4 separate regions of the Homo sapiens genome follow, and regions 1, 2 and 4 are each linked to region 3. Evidence: promoter capture Hi-C in human tissues and cell types (Jung and others, 2019). All regions are on one chromosome and are shown on one strand. Each heading gives the region's core, a stretch centred on a gene start or on the middle of the fragment in contact. The rest is flanking DNA. Distances are from core to core; before and after follow the strand shown.

Region 1 (3,172 bases), core at 559-3,058, 740 kb after region 3:
TGCAAGACTCACAAAACTTTAGGTTGAAAGATTGTCTCATTAACATGTAATAACCTAACTGGTCCAGTACTAAGAAACAAGTATTTCAAATATTCCTGAGGAAAAACAACTAGTAAATTATATAAAATAATATATAAAGTACAAACATACGGCATAATCAAAAGCATCACATTTCTTCCACAAAGAATATAAATAAATGCTACAGGTACTTGGGAACAGGAAGACATCAGTTCTGGCCAATCTAATTTTTCTAGAATCCACATTTAATTGGATACTCTGACATTTTCTAGTAAAATATTCTTGAGGGCTATTGGAATTAACAGATCCACAAAGTGTGCTAGACAGAATCAAATGCAACTGAAATTCCGGCCTCTACTATCTACTGCACAAATTCCCACTTTTCAGAGGCACTGTTGGTCCTATTTCCTAGTATCAAAGGGTAGAGAAAACCTTCCACATGCCTATTCTAAGAATTTAAATAGCTAATATGAAAACTTTAAAATGATTTTTACCTCTAGATTAAAAAGAACCAAGATAAACTGCGTCTGATATTTTACCTTGCAGAAGCTAAGTCAACCAGTGAGTCGTGTAACCTTTATATGAATTCCCTCCTGAAAGACTGGAACCATACCCCTGACTATTCTGGAGCAAGGGAGAGCAGATAACTAAAGCTCTCCAGCAAGCAAAACAAGGAGAAGGGATTTTAGGAACATGCCTTTTCTTTGGAAAGGCATTTTTTAGTACCCCACCTACTAATCTAACGCGGCGCGGAAACCTTGCAGAATTTGAAAACAAATGCTGAGAGGCTCCGGGGGACCGGTAAAGGGATTAGCAACTGACAGCTCGGCCTCGGAGCGAGAAGCCTCAAGTAGTTAGATCAAACCGTGTCAACGATCTGAAATCCAGGGTCCACCCCAGTGAGCTTAGAGAAGTACAGCAGCAGAAGGTAAGCAGGGGTTTGGCGTCTTTCAGTCCTAAAGATGCGGGATATCGGAACTGAGAGAGACCTAGAACCCAAGCCGGGCAGTTTGCCTGCTCTCACCTCTCTTGGGGGCTTTGATCAGAGGCACCCCTCCAGTCCTCTCGCCGTTTTCCTGCTTGTCCTTGTGCTTGAGATCGGTTCCGCAGGAGCTGGGATCACCATCGGGGCCGCGGTGGTGATGGTGCTTGTGCCGCTCCTTGTGGCCCTTATGCTTGGGCCCGGCCGCGCTCACCGTCAGAGGCGAGAAGGTGAAGAGGGCCGAGGTGCTTGGGGCCGGGAGAGGGGCAGCGACAGCGGGCCCGGCGGGTGCCAGCGAAGGTGGCGGCGGAGGCGGCAGGAGAAGAGGCTCAACAGGGCCTGGGACAGTTGGGGCTGCATTCGTTGGCGGCAGCGGCCCAGGATGTTGGCGGCTGCGACGCCGCCGGTGAGGGGGAGCGAGAGGGGGCTCCTGGCTCGGCCGCCCCCGCTTCTCCTGAGACCCCCCACTGCTAGATCGGCGCTGCCGTTTAACTCCCCGCGGGGAGACCCCAGCATGAGGTTTCTCCTTCCCCTCTTTGTCCGGCTCCTCCTGCGCCGCCACCGCCCGTACTACGCGCACCGCTCCGACCTGCGCAGCCATTTCACCCACAAACACACATTTAAATGGCCCGACCGCCCCCCCGTCCGCGCATCGCGCAAGCGCCGCCCGCGCACTGCCCGCTGGGCATTGGAGTCTCTCCTCCGCCCTCCACTTGTCGGCCGTTCTTCGTCCAGAGATGAACATGCCGGAAGCGGCCGTTCCCAGCTTTTCTCCGCAGGCCTCTCCAACCGAGCTTCTATTGTAAAGCACCCTATGCCGCGCAAAGCGTCATGGGAGCTGTAGTTCCGCCGCGCCCCCGCCGCGTCCCCGGCTCTGAGTGGAGGAGTGGAAAGGGAGCGTGCGCGAAGTCACGCTTCTGGCTGCGACGCAACCGCCGCTGGGCGGTGAGTTGCCGCCAACCGCCCTAACGGCCGAAACAATGTTAATGGCTTTCAGAGTCTGGCGGCGCGTTCCCATTATCATCTTCCTGTGACCCTTCCTCATTTTACACGGAGGAGGTGGTCTCCACAGTGATTTTAAATTTAATATTTCTCTCATAACCTTTGTGAGATAAAAGAATCTTCATCCTTTTAACTTTGACGAGGGATGAAATGAAGGTGAAAAGAGGATTTAGTAATATGTAAAATAAGGGTGGTTTTGCTGTAAAAATATGATAGGGCCGCAATTCAGAAATGTTTTCAAGCATCTGGGGCATTGCTATGGTTACAACTACAGGCCTACGAAGTCAGGTGCGAGAACTGCTTGGAGTCCTGGTGAGGACGGCCCCTCCTCGCCATCCGGCCACATCCCCTCTAATGCCTGGAAATGTCCAGCATTTATTTTGAATATATCCCTACAGTTGCGAAAAATTGTAGATGGAAAACCACGTTTAAGATTTTTTATAAGTTTTTTTTTTTCAAATCTTAAGGATAAGATTGCATAAATTTGAAAAGTGTGCCTACCGGAGAACACACCAAAAATCATCACTGCTCACTACGGATAGTTGTTGCTCAGAAATTCATTTAGAATTTCATCCTCGCTTTAGCTTTTACCTGGGGTTCTTTTAAGTATTTATTTAGAGACGGGCGGGGCGGGGCTCGGTGTCTCAGGCCGGTAATCCCAGAGCTTTGGGAGGCCGAGGCGGGAGGATTGCATGAGGCCAGGAGTTCCAGATCAGCGTTGGTAACATAGTGAGCCTCTGTCCCTACAAAAGTATTTTTTAAATTATCTGGGTGTCGTGACACGCGCCTGTAGTCCCAGGTACTCGTGAGGCTAAGGTGGGAGGAGTGGTCGCACCACTGCACTCTGGCCTGGGTGACAGATCTAGACCCTGACTCTTAAAAAAAAGAGACAAGGTCTCGCTCTGTTGACCAGGCTGGCCTCCAACTCCTGGGCTCAAGGAATGAGTAGCTGGGTCTACAGATGCACTCATGGTGCCCTAAGTAACTCATGGTTACCTAGAATTCTTTTAGTATATTTGTTTATTGATAAAGACATTTGGAAGTAATTGATTACAATGATATATACTCAGCAGATAAAATTACTGTGGTTTGATTTCACTAGTTTCTGGAGAAGTATTACCTAAACACTACTGCAATGAAGTCAGTTTAACAACCAAAAAGTTTATTGAG
Region 2 (2,977 bases), core at 187-2,686, 620 kb after region 3:
TGTGGGTCCACTTATATACAGGCCTTTTTCTGTAAGTATATTGGAAAATTTTTTTGAGATTTGTGGCAATTTGAAAAAACAAACCATGTAGCCTAGAAATATAGAAAAATTAAAAAGTTATATAGATACTAGCCTATTTTATCATTTACTATAAAATACACACAAATCTATTATAAAAAGTTAAAATTTATAAAAACATACAAACAAACTGTACATGGCACCATTCACGGTTGAGAGAAATGTAAACAAAGATACAGTATTAAATCATAACTGCATAAAATTAACTGTAGTACATACTGAGCTACTATAATTATTTTGTAGTTACCTCCTGTTGCTATTGTGGTGAACTCAAGTGTCAAAAGATCTGTTTAAAACACCATGTGATGCTAATCATCTCTGTGTGAGCAGTTCATCTCTCCATAAACCGTGGATCACAGTAAAAAGTGATCCCTTGCGGTTCTTGCATATTTTTCATGGTTAGTGCAATACTGTAAACCTTGAGGACATAAAAACTGCAGGACCCATATGAAGCACCACCAGTCATAGAAGTGCTCCCAAGAAGCACAGAAGAGTCATGACATTACAAGAAAAAGTTGAGTTGCTTGATACCATAGATTGGGGTCTGTGGTTGCCCACCATTTCAAGATAAATGAGTCCAGCATAAGGACCATTGTAAAAGAAAGAAGGAAAGAGAAGAAAGAAGGACGGAAGGAAGGGAGGGAGGGAGGGAGGGAGGGAGGGAGGGAGGGAGGGAGGAAAGAAAAGAAAAACTCATGAAGCTTTTGCTGCAGTTATGCCACCAGGCATGAAAACCTTGCACTTTTTGTGAAATAGCTTTTAACTTGCATTTAAAATGCAGCTTCATGTGGGTATGGGAGTGCTCTAAGGCATATCTATAGATTCCAATGTGATTCAAGAAAAAGCAAAGTTATATGACAAAGCAAAAGGAAAGTAGATTTGCTGATGAAGAAGCAGCAGACGAGTTCACAGATGCCATTCAGAAGATAACTGAGAAGAAAAGATATCTGCCTTAACAGGTTTTTAATGCAGAAGAAAGTGCCTATTCTGGGAAATAATGCCACAAAGGAAATTTATTAGAAAGAGAAGCAAGCACCATGATTTAGGCAGGAAAGGATAAGCTAATACTGTGCAAATGCAGTTGTGTTTACGATCAGGACTACACATATCTGTAAACCTGCTAACCCCCAAGCCTTGAAGAAGAAGAAGAAAAAAAAACACCAGCTGACAGTCTTTTGGTTGTATACCAAGAAGTCCTAGACAATGAGAACCCTTTTTCTGGATTGGTTCTGTCAATGCTTTGTCCCTAAAGTCAGGAAGTACCTTGCTAGTAAGACACTACCTTTGAAAGTTCTTTTGATACTGGACAATGCCCCTGGCCACCTAAAACCCCATAAATTCAACACCAAAGCGATGAAGTGGTCTCTGTGCTCCCAAACACAACATCTTTAATTCAGGAATAAGGGGGTCATAAGGACTTTTTAGATCCATTACACACAGTACTCTGGAAAGGACTGTCAATACTGTGAAAGAGAACCCCAAGAGAGAACATTATGAAAGTCTGGAAGGAATGATTATGCCATGCCACTGAAAATGCCATCATTGTTACAGAAAAAGCTGTGAAAGCCAACAAGCCCAAAACAATAAATTCTGGCTGGAGAAACCTGTGCAGATGTTGTGCATAACTTCATAGGATTTACAAAAGAGTCAATCAAGGAAATCATGAAAGAGATTGTGGATGTGGCAAAAAAAGTGGGGTGTGAAGGGTTTCAAGAGAAATTCAGGAGCTAATAAACCCCACACCATAGGAATTAACAGATGACTTGTTGATGGAGACGAGTGCTTCCAAATCAGTGCAAGATGATGAGGAAGAAAACTTAGAAGCAATGCCAAAGAACAAGATGATGTAAGACAATCTGGCAGAAGGGTTCCAATTATTCAAGGCTGCTTTTGACTTCTTTTACAACATGGACTCTTCTATGATATGGACACTGAAACTAAAGCAAACAGTAGAAGAACGATTGGTACCATATAGAAACATTTTTAGAGAAATGAAAAAAGCAAAAAGTCCAATTACAATGTATTTCTGTAAAGTTAGATCAAGTGTGACTGCCTCTTGTGCTTCCCCTTCCACCTGTGCCACCCCTGACTCAGCAAGACCAACCGCTCCTCTTCCTCCTCAGTCTACTCAATGTGAAGATGACAAAGAGGAAGACTTTTATGATGATCCACTTCTCCTTAATGAATGGAAAATATGCTTTCTCTTTCTTAGGATTTTCTTTATAACATTTGTCTTTTGTCTAGCTCACTTTAAGAATACAGTATATAATACAAATAACATACAAAATGTGTTGATTGTTTGTGTTACTGGCAAGACTCCCAGTCAACTGTAAGCTATTAAGTTTTGGGGGCATCAGAGTTACACATGAATTTTTTACAGGAAAGGAGGATAGTGCCCCTAACCCCTGCATTGCTCAAGAATCAAATGTATGACCCTTCTATCCTAACAGAAAAAAAAACTACACAAATGGTAAATTACTTGAGGTCTATTCTTCATTCAACACATTTTTATTGAACACCTATTATATGTTCTGGGGACAAGAAGAAGTCTCTGCCTTCAAGGGACTTACACTGTAGCGGGAAAGGAAACGACAGACAGTCAAAAAATAAACACGATAAAATTGTGGTAAGTGCCATGAAGGAAATCAATAAGGCGATATAACTGATAATGGATAAAATGGGTAACTACTTTAACTAGGGTCATCAGAGAAGGCCCTCTAAGGAACTGACAGCTGACAGCTGAGAGATAAGCAGCAGCCAGCCAGAGATGAACCTAAGAAAATATATTCCAGGCAGATGAAACAAGCTTGCACAAGCCTGATATGAGAAAGAACCTGGAATAATAGAAGAGCAGAGGGAGGTCAGTGTGGTAGTGAGGTAAAGGAGTGAGGCTGTAAAG
Region 3 (3,455 bases), core at 562-3,061:
AGGTTGCGGTGAGCCGAGATTGTGCCATTGCACTCCAGCCTGGGCAACAATAATGAAATTTTGTCTCAAAAAAAAAACAAAAAAAACAAAAAAAACAAAAAAAACGTGTATTTGTGGCCAGTCACAGTGGCTCATGCCTGTAATCCCAGCACTTTGAGAGCCCGAGGTGGGTGGATCACCTGAGGTCAGGAGTTCGAGACCAGCCTGGCCAAAAAGGCAAAACCCCGTCTCTACTAAAAATACAAAAATTAGCCGGGCATGGTGGTGCACACCTGTAGTCCCAGCTACTAGGCAGGCTGAGGCAGGAGAATCGCTTGAATACGGCAGGCAGAGATTGCAGTGAGCCACTTACTGCGGAGGATACAGGTTAGAGAGCATTAATTTCTAATGGCCCCATTTGGTATAGTTTCATAGGAAAGCTCTGAAACTATAATGTAGAAAGGAACTAAACTGCCTCCTTTTTTTTTTTGTAAGGTTCCTGCCTATGCCGGATTTCTTACCAGAGTTTGTTAAGTCTGCTCAACAGCTAAGGGAAGAAGGCTAAGAGTAAGTTTCATTCCGCTGTCTTGGCTTTAAAAGTTTGGTTTGGACTGTAGCATTGGATATGGCCTTGTTTCCAATATATACTTCAATATTAAAAAAAAAAAACAGAAAAAGGTTTTTAAAAACATAATTATGACTCCATAATCTGCCATGGGAAAGATTGCTTTCAGTTACTTTCTATGAGAACCCTAACCTAGGCATTATCATTCTTTTTAACCTGCTCAGATTTTCAATTTATGTCAGAAAACCCATGTTAATGTCGAACCTGCCCCTGCCTCAAGAGTAACTTGGTTTAACCTCTTGGGGCTTGTTGCATCATCAGCAATAATTGTCTTGCCAATGTCACAGTCACTGAAGGAGCAAACAAGATAACAGATGCAAACGCCCTTTGAAAAGTTCACTACGTATAAGTGAACCATCACTATTATTCTCAAAGTCTTATTTACAACCTTGGATGGCTGAATGAGCATAAGATGGCCAGACTTCACTGTTCCTAGTAAGTTTTCCATAGCCTCTGCTTTAGGAGAAATAAATTTCCTCACATCCAGTCTTTGCTTTGTTGACTGCTCAACACCCTCTTGTCTCGCTTGCTTTTCTGAGAGTGACCTTGACAGCATCCCTCCAAAGAGAAGGGTATTTCCTTTATATAGACATGCAGGTGCAGTCCCACCAAAATTTATTGAACTCCAAGCTAGAACAAAAGGTGGAGGTGCACCGATGAAGAAACAGGGCCTCTGCCTTCAGGAGCTTACAAGGCCATTAACAGAGAGTGATATTGATCTTATGCAAATGGCAGTTGCCGCCTACTTGCAGAAGAGCAGGGGCTACAGCCAAGCAGCAGGGGGCAGAAGAGGCTCGAGCTCGGCTCTGGAGGCCGATCTGGCCAAAGCCAGGATAGAAGCTCCCGTGACCCATTCGTGTGTGCGACTTGGAAGGCAGCCCTTCTGCCACTCCCCTTTCTTAAAGCCCAGAGCAAATAAAAGATCCTTTTCTACTACAGTAGATATACCTGTAGTCAGGACTTTGAACTCACAGCTATTCGCCGCACCATTCCCTCTTAAGGAACTACTGCGCCCTCCAGCGGAAGAACAGCGGCGGAACTCCACAGCGGCAGCTAAAATCCCTGAACGCTTTAAAGTCCTTCTCCTCAAGATACTCGGCTGCGTCTGGCCCCGCCCCTCACTGAGTTCCGCCCCGGGCGCAACCTCATCTTATGGCACCGATTGGCTGGCCCCTGTGCGTGAGGACGTTGCGCCGTGGGGAGGGGCGGACGAGAGGTGTCCGTCAGGCCGTGTGTCCCAGGCCGTCGACCCCGCTGTCGCGCTGCGTCTGCTCCTTGCATGCCTTTAGATGGTACAGCCTTCAGCCGGGGCTTCGGGAGACAGTGCAGCCACCGAGCATCTCTGCTGAGCTTCTCCGCCGATCCTCCTTTTCTAGCAGGCAGCTCTTCTAGGCCACGTCCAGGTCGAGGGGGAAAATGGCGCCGGCGCCCCTAGGCGTCCCGGAGGAGCAGTTGCTGGGGTGTCGATCTAGAGTGCTTTCTCGGTTACTCTTCATTGCCCAGACCGCTCTCCTCCTGTTGCCCGCCGCCGGAGCAGGTCTCTGCCCCGCGCCCTGCTCCTGCCGCATTCCTCTCCTGGACTGCAGTCGCAGGAAATTGCCCGCACCGAGCTGGAGGGCGCTGTCGGGCTTGCTGCCCCCCGACACCGCTATCCTGTGAGTAGAGCGGCCAGGCAGAGTGACCAAAAGGAGGGGGAGCCTTCCCTCTACAGGGGGCAGGCAGGAGGGAGACAGGCCTGGTCGGAGGGTGTGGTCGAGAGCCTAAGCTCTGAAGGAAACTGCCGTCAGGATTTTATGAACTTTGTTTTAGGTGGTGGGAGCCTAAAAAAGCCGGTGTTAAGGTTTCTGGAGAATTGTATGAAGACGAGGGTTAAGATTCTTGGGGCCAAGGAGTCTGTGATTTCCTCAACTGGGGAGGAAATGGGGCGGGCATATTTAATGGTAAGGACTCACGGGTCCTGGGCACCAGCATTGACTTTGGATGGTTGGTGGGGCGGGGGGTGGGTTGAGCACGGAACAGTGCTTTCTGCTTATCTTGAGCTGCATGATTTGGTGTGTACCTCAGACTTAGTGGTCCTCAGGCACGTGATTTTATAATCACAATCGCCAAAGACCTATGAACTGTCTTTAGTCCTTAGTTCGCATGTTGGCTGATTTTGTGCTGCAGTTTTGATACTTAACAGGGTTGAAAAGTTCATTATGATGAATCAGGAGATCCTGTAATTCAGAATATCTTTGTAAGTAGCATTCTTGATCTAATTTAAACTTCACTGTAAAGAGGAGGAGTATTTTTTGCAGAACCATTTGATGCTTTGTTTTCAGCGCATCTTCTTGTGGCAAAGAACCCAAAAATCAGTTCTGCTTATTTATGTAGGTAAAGCAGGTACAACGGTTGAATGAATTCTGGAGTTTCCACTGTTGAGTTTTCACTTTGACAGGTCTTTATTAGACAGTGGAACTTGGAGGGCTCCTTAGTCTGAGTCAGCCTGGTGGTATTAGGAACAACAGCAGGTATTAAATGCTGCAATTATGGGGCTTCTTAACCACTAACATACAGTTATTTCTCGTCACTAACTGAGCAGCACGTTTATTAACTGACAGATTTCTGATGGAGTCGTTAAGAAAGAGTCATCAATGGGCCAGGCGCGGTGGCTCACGCCTGTAATCCCAGCACTTTGGGAGGCCGAGGCGGGCCGATCACGAGGTCAAGAGATCGAGACCATCCTGGCCAACATGGTGAAACCCCGTCTCTACTAAAAATACAAAAAAATTAGCTGGGTGTGGTGGTGTGCGCCTGTAGTCCCAGCTACTCGGGAGGCTGAGGCAGGAGAATCGCTTGAACCCGGGAGGTG
Region 4 (3,468 bases), core at 14-2,513, 680 kb after region 3:
GCCCAACGAAAAGATCCTTTTAATCTGGAAATACATACACAGTACTGCATTTCTGGGGCAATTTTTAAAATTATTTATTAATTTCTTCTTCTCCATGTATTTCCTTTTTCTGGAACATCTATTAGTTGGATATTACATTTCCTGCATGAATTGCACTCACTTTGCTATTTTCTTTTTTGTTGTTCATTTTTATACTACTTTTCTGGGAAATGGTCTCAAATTTATCTTCTAACTTTTCCACTGAATTTATTTTAATTTTTATTTATTTATGTGTTTATTTTTGAGACAGGGTCCCACTCTGTCACCCAGGCTGGAGTGCAGTGGTGCAATCACGGCTCACTGCAGCTTCGACTTCCCAGGCTCAGATGATCTCCCACCTCGGCCTCCTAAGTAGCTGGGACTACAGGCATGCAACGCCAAGCCCAGCTAATTTTTTTGTATTTTTTGTAAAGACAGGGTATCACCATGTTGCCCAAGCTAATCTTGAACTCCTGGGCTCAAGCGATCAGCCTCGGCCTCCCAAAGTGCTGAGATTACAGGCGTGAGCCACTGTACCCAGCCACCCCTGAATTTATTCTGATTATTTTTATTTTCTAGTCTTCTCACTTTCTAATCTATAGTCTATTTTTTAAGCATTCTTAATTTTTAAATTGACAGATAATATTCTATGTATTCAGTGTGTACAACATATTCTGAAGTGGATATACACTGTAGAATGACTAAATTAATATATACATTACCTCACATGGTTATTATTTGTGTGGTGAGAACACTTAATATCCACTCTCTTAGCATTTTTCAAGAATACAACATACTAACTATAGTCACCAATGTTATACAATAGATGTCCTGAAGATATCTCAGTCTTTTTATAGTATCCAGTTCTTTAAAGGTAGTAATTATATCTTTAAAAACACTGTTTTTATGATTCCTGCATTGCTTCTTTTCTCTTTTCTTCTTTTTCTTTAGGTCTTAAATATTTGATGATCTTTAATTATCCATTTATAATTAACAGTCACTAACACACTGAATGCAAGCTCAGTGTGCAATGCGTGAAGCATTTTGAATAGTGGACCTCACTATAGAGGCGTGGCCAGTCATTTCACTTTTCAGTATCCTTAGGTTCTCTTTGGTTACTCAGTTTTGACGAAAAGAAATTCCAGTCTTCTGTTTGCAGATTATAAATCTGACGACCAGACTTTCACTTAATCCCCATTATTAGTGCAGCATCTCACCAGACTCTGATTTGTTTCTGGTCTTCCAGAATCCAGAACTTCTCTGGCTCAGCCTCTCCAGAGAGCAAGCTTCAACCCGGTCTTCTGTCAGAGGAAGATAAGGGTAACTATGTGGCTACATGGAATAAGGAAGATCTGGGGGTAGATCTATTATCCCTTATACACATGTTCAAACAATCCTGTCTTTAGTTCTTTCTCACTCCTACAGATTATACCTGATACATCTAATTCCTGAGTCTTTCAGAAGTTAATTACAGGGGTTTTACTTGTTTCCTATTGGCTTTCCCTATTGCAGGCACTTAAGAGTTTTACTTCTTTCATTTTCCAACCTTCGAAATTGTATTGATAGCTCTCATTTACTGTAGTCTCTTCTTCCATTCTTTAAGTCCTTGCAGGCTGCCATGATTTTTTCTTATCTGTTGTACTTTTAAAGAGGTTTCAGGAGAGATTAGTGCATGTATTTGAACTACCATTTTTTGGGTTTTGTTTTGTTTTTGTTTTTTTTTCAGGACAGGGTCTTGCTCTGTCACCCCGTCTAGAGTGCAGTGGCACAATCATAGCACACCACAGCCTCAAACTCCTGGGCTCAGGCGATCCCCCCCAACCAGCTTCCCCAGTATCTGGGACTACAGGCACATGCCCACCACACCCAGCTAATTTTTTTATCTTTTTGTAGAGCTATGTTGCCCAGGCTGGTCCCAAACTCCCGGCCTCGAGCAAAAACCTCGGCTTCCCAGAGTGCTGGGATTATAGGCGTGAGCGACCACGCATGGCCTCAAACTGTCATCTTTAATGAGGAGTGTCAGTGTCATCTATCATATGGCCACCATCCTGCTTAAATAAAACATTATAAATACAGCTGAAGTAGTCTCTGTGCTTCTGATTAGCCTTTTTTATTCTCTAAATACAAAACCATGCTATCTTCAAACAGTGATTTTTGTTCACTCTAATATTAATTTTTAAAAATAAAACACACAAAAAAGAAAAGATAATATTAATTAATATTAATTAGAATGTTTTGCTCATCTTAGCAAATGTATCTCAAACAGTATGCTAAAGAGTAGTAAAAGGGGCCAGGCGTGGTGGCTCACGCCTGTAATCCCAGCACTTTGGGAGGCCAAGGCAGGCAGATCATGAAATCAAGAGATCGAGCCATCCTGGCCAACATGGTGAAACCCCACCTCTACCAAAAATACAAAAATTAGCTGGGCATGGTGGCGTGCGCCTGTAATCCCAGCCACTCGGGAGGCTGAGGCAGGAGAATCACTTGAACCTGGGAGGCGGAAGTTGCTGTGAGCACTGCACTCCAGCCTGGGCAACAGAGCAGGACTCTGTCTCCAAAAAAAAAAAAAAAAGATTAGTAAAAGGGGAGATTCTTATTTTAGGCTTATTTTGGAGGACTAAGTTACACTCCATCACTGAAAATAATATTAGACATTAGATTTAATATATTCTCTCAATTAAAAAATTTTAGGGCTGGGTGTGGTGGCTTACATCTGTAATCCCAGCACTTTGGGAGGCCAGGGAGGGAGAACTGCTTAAGCCCAGGAGTTCAAGACCAGCCTAGGCAATGTGGTGAGACCTTGTCTCTACAAAATATAAAATATTTTTTAAAAATTTAGAAAACAATTTTAATTGTGAATATGTATACATTTACATTTTTGGTGTACTATATTATGATTTTTCCTACTTTTACTATTGGTATAATTTTTAAAGTAGCTTTATTGAGGTATAATTTACATACTATTAAACTAAACTATTTTTACAGATTTAGTAAATAATTTAGATTTTTAGTAAATTTGTAGAGTTGTGCAATCATTATCACACTCAAGTTTTAGAACATTTCCATCACCTCAAAAAGTTCCTTTCTGCCTGTTTGCAGGAAAGCCCTGTTCCCCTCAATCCATAGGCAACTTTTGATCTGTTTTCTATTTCTATAGATTTCTAGAAATTTCATATAAACAATCACACAATATGTTGTACTTAGCATGACATTTTTTATGTTCATCCATGATGCAGTATGTATTAACAGTTTTTATTGCTGAATTGTATTTCATTGTATGACTATAACACATTTGTTTATACCAATTGATTCACCAGTTGATGGACACGTGGGTTTTTCCTACTTCTGGCTATTAAGAATAGTGCTGCTATGAACATTTGCATGTATTTATGTTTTCACTTCTCTTGGATAGAAAATGTTAAATATAGTAGATACCCTAAATATAGGTAG

The links. The method cuts DNA at HindIII sites, captures the fragments that hold promoters and counts their contacts. A contact is called where the count stands out against the background at its distance.
Region 1: a contact is called between the fragment with the promoter of RSBN1 here and the fragment with the promoter of LRIG2 in region 3, in 1 of the 25 tissues and cell types used here (lymphoblastoid cells).
Region 2: a contact is called between a fragment that was not itself captured here and the fragment with the promoter of LRIG2 in region 3, in 1 of the 25 tissues and cell types used here (spleen).
Region 4: a fragment that was not itself captured here is called in contact with the fragment with the promoter of LRIG2 in region 3 in 1 of the 25 tissues and cell types used here (aorta).

The regions. Positions count from the first base shown.
Region 1 is chr1:113,810,668-113,813,839 of GRCh38, forward strand. RSBN1 (round spermatid basic protein 1) reads right to left here and starts at 1,809. Exons shown (of 7, transcript NM_018364.5): 1 at 1,043-1,809. The coding sequence starts at 1,745. AP4B1-AS1 (AP4B1 antisense RNA 1) reads left to right here and starts at 1,945. Exons shown (of 5, transcript NR_125965.1): 1 at 1,945-2,158. It overlaps PTPN22 (protein tyrosine phosphatase non-receptor type 22), which reads right to left. Exons shown (of 21, transcript NM_015967.8): 21 at 3,144-3,172. RefSeq lists enhancers at 620-1,149, 874-933, 1,084-1,173, 1,150-1,679, 1,554-1,943 and 1 more. The HindIII fragment of the contact is 11,215 bases long and covers 1-3,172 here.
Region 2 is chr1:113,690,381-113,693,357 of GRCh38, forward strand. No RefSeq gene overlaps it. Among named protein-coding and RNA genes, the nearest start is that of PHTF1, 68 kb to the right of the region's middle. The HindIII fragment of the contact is 3,895 bases long and covers 1-2,977 here.
Region 3 is chr1:113,071,387-113,074,841 of GRCh38, forward strand. It overlaps LRIG2 (leucine rich repeats and immunoglobulin like domains 2), which reads left to right and starts at 1,812. Exons shown (of 18, transcript NM_014813.3): 1 at 1,812-2,259. The coding sequence starts at 2,021. LRIG2-DT (LRIG2 divergent transcript) reads right to left here and starts at 1,716. Exons shown (of 3, transcript NR_103777.1): 1 at 1,553-1,716. RefSeq lists enhancers at 1,283-1,532, 1,591-2,124, 1,783-2,092, 2,125-2,656, 2,273-2,332 and 1 more. The HindIII fragment of the contact is 29,814 bases long and covers 1-3,455 here.
Region 4 is chr1:113,748,271-113,751,738 of GRCh38, forward strand. All of the region lies in intron 3 of PHTF1 (putative homeodomain transcription factor 1), which reads right to left. Among named protein-coding and RNA genes, the nearest start is that of PHTF1, 9.5 kb to the right of the region's middle. RefSeq lists a silencer at 1,157-1,451. The HindIII fragment of the contact is 3,903 bases long and covers 1-3,215 here.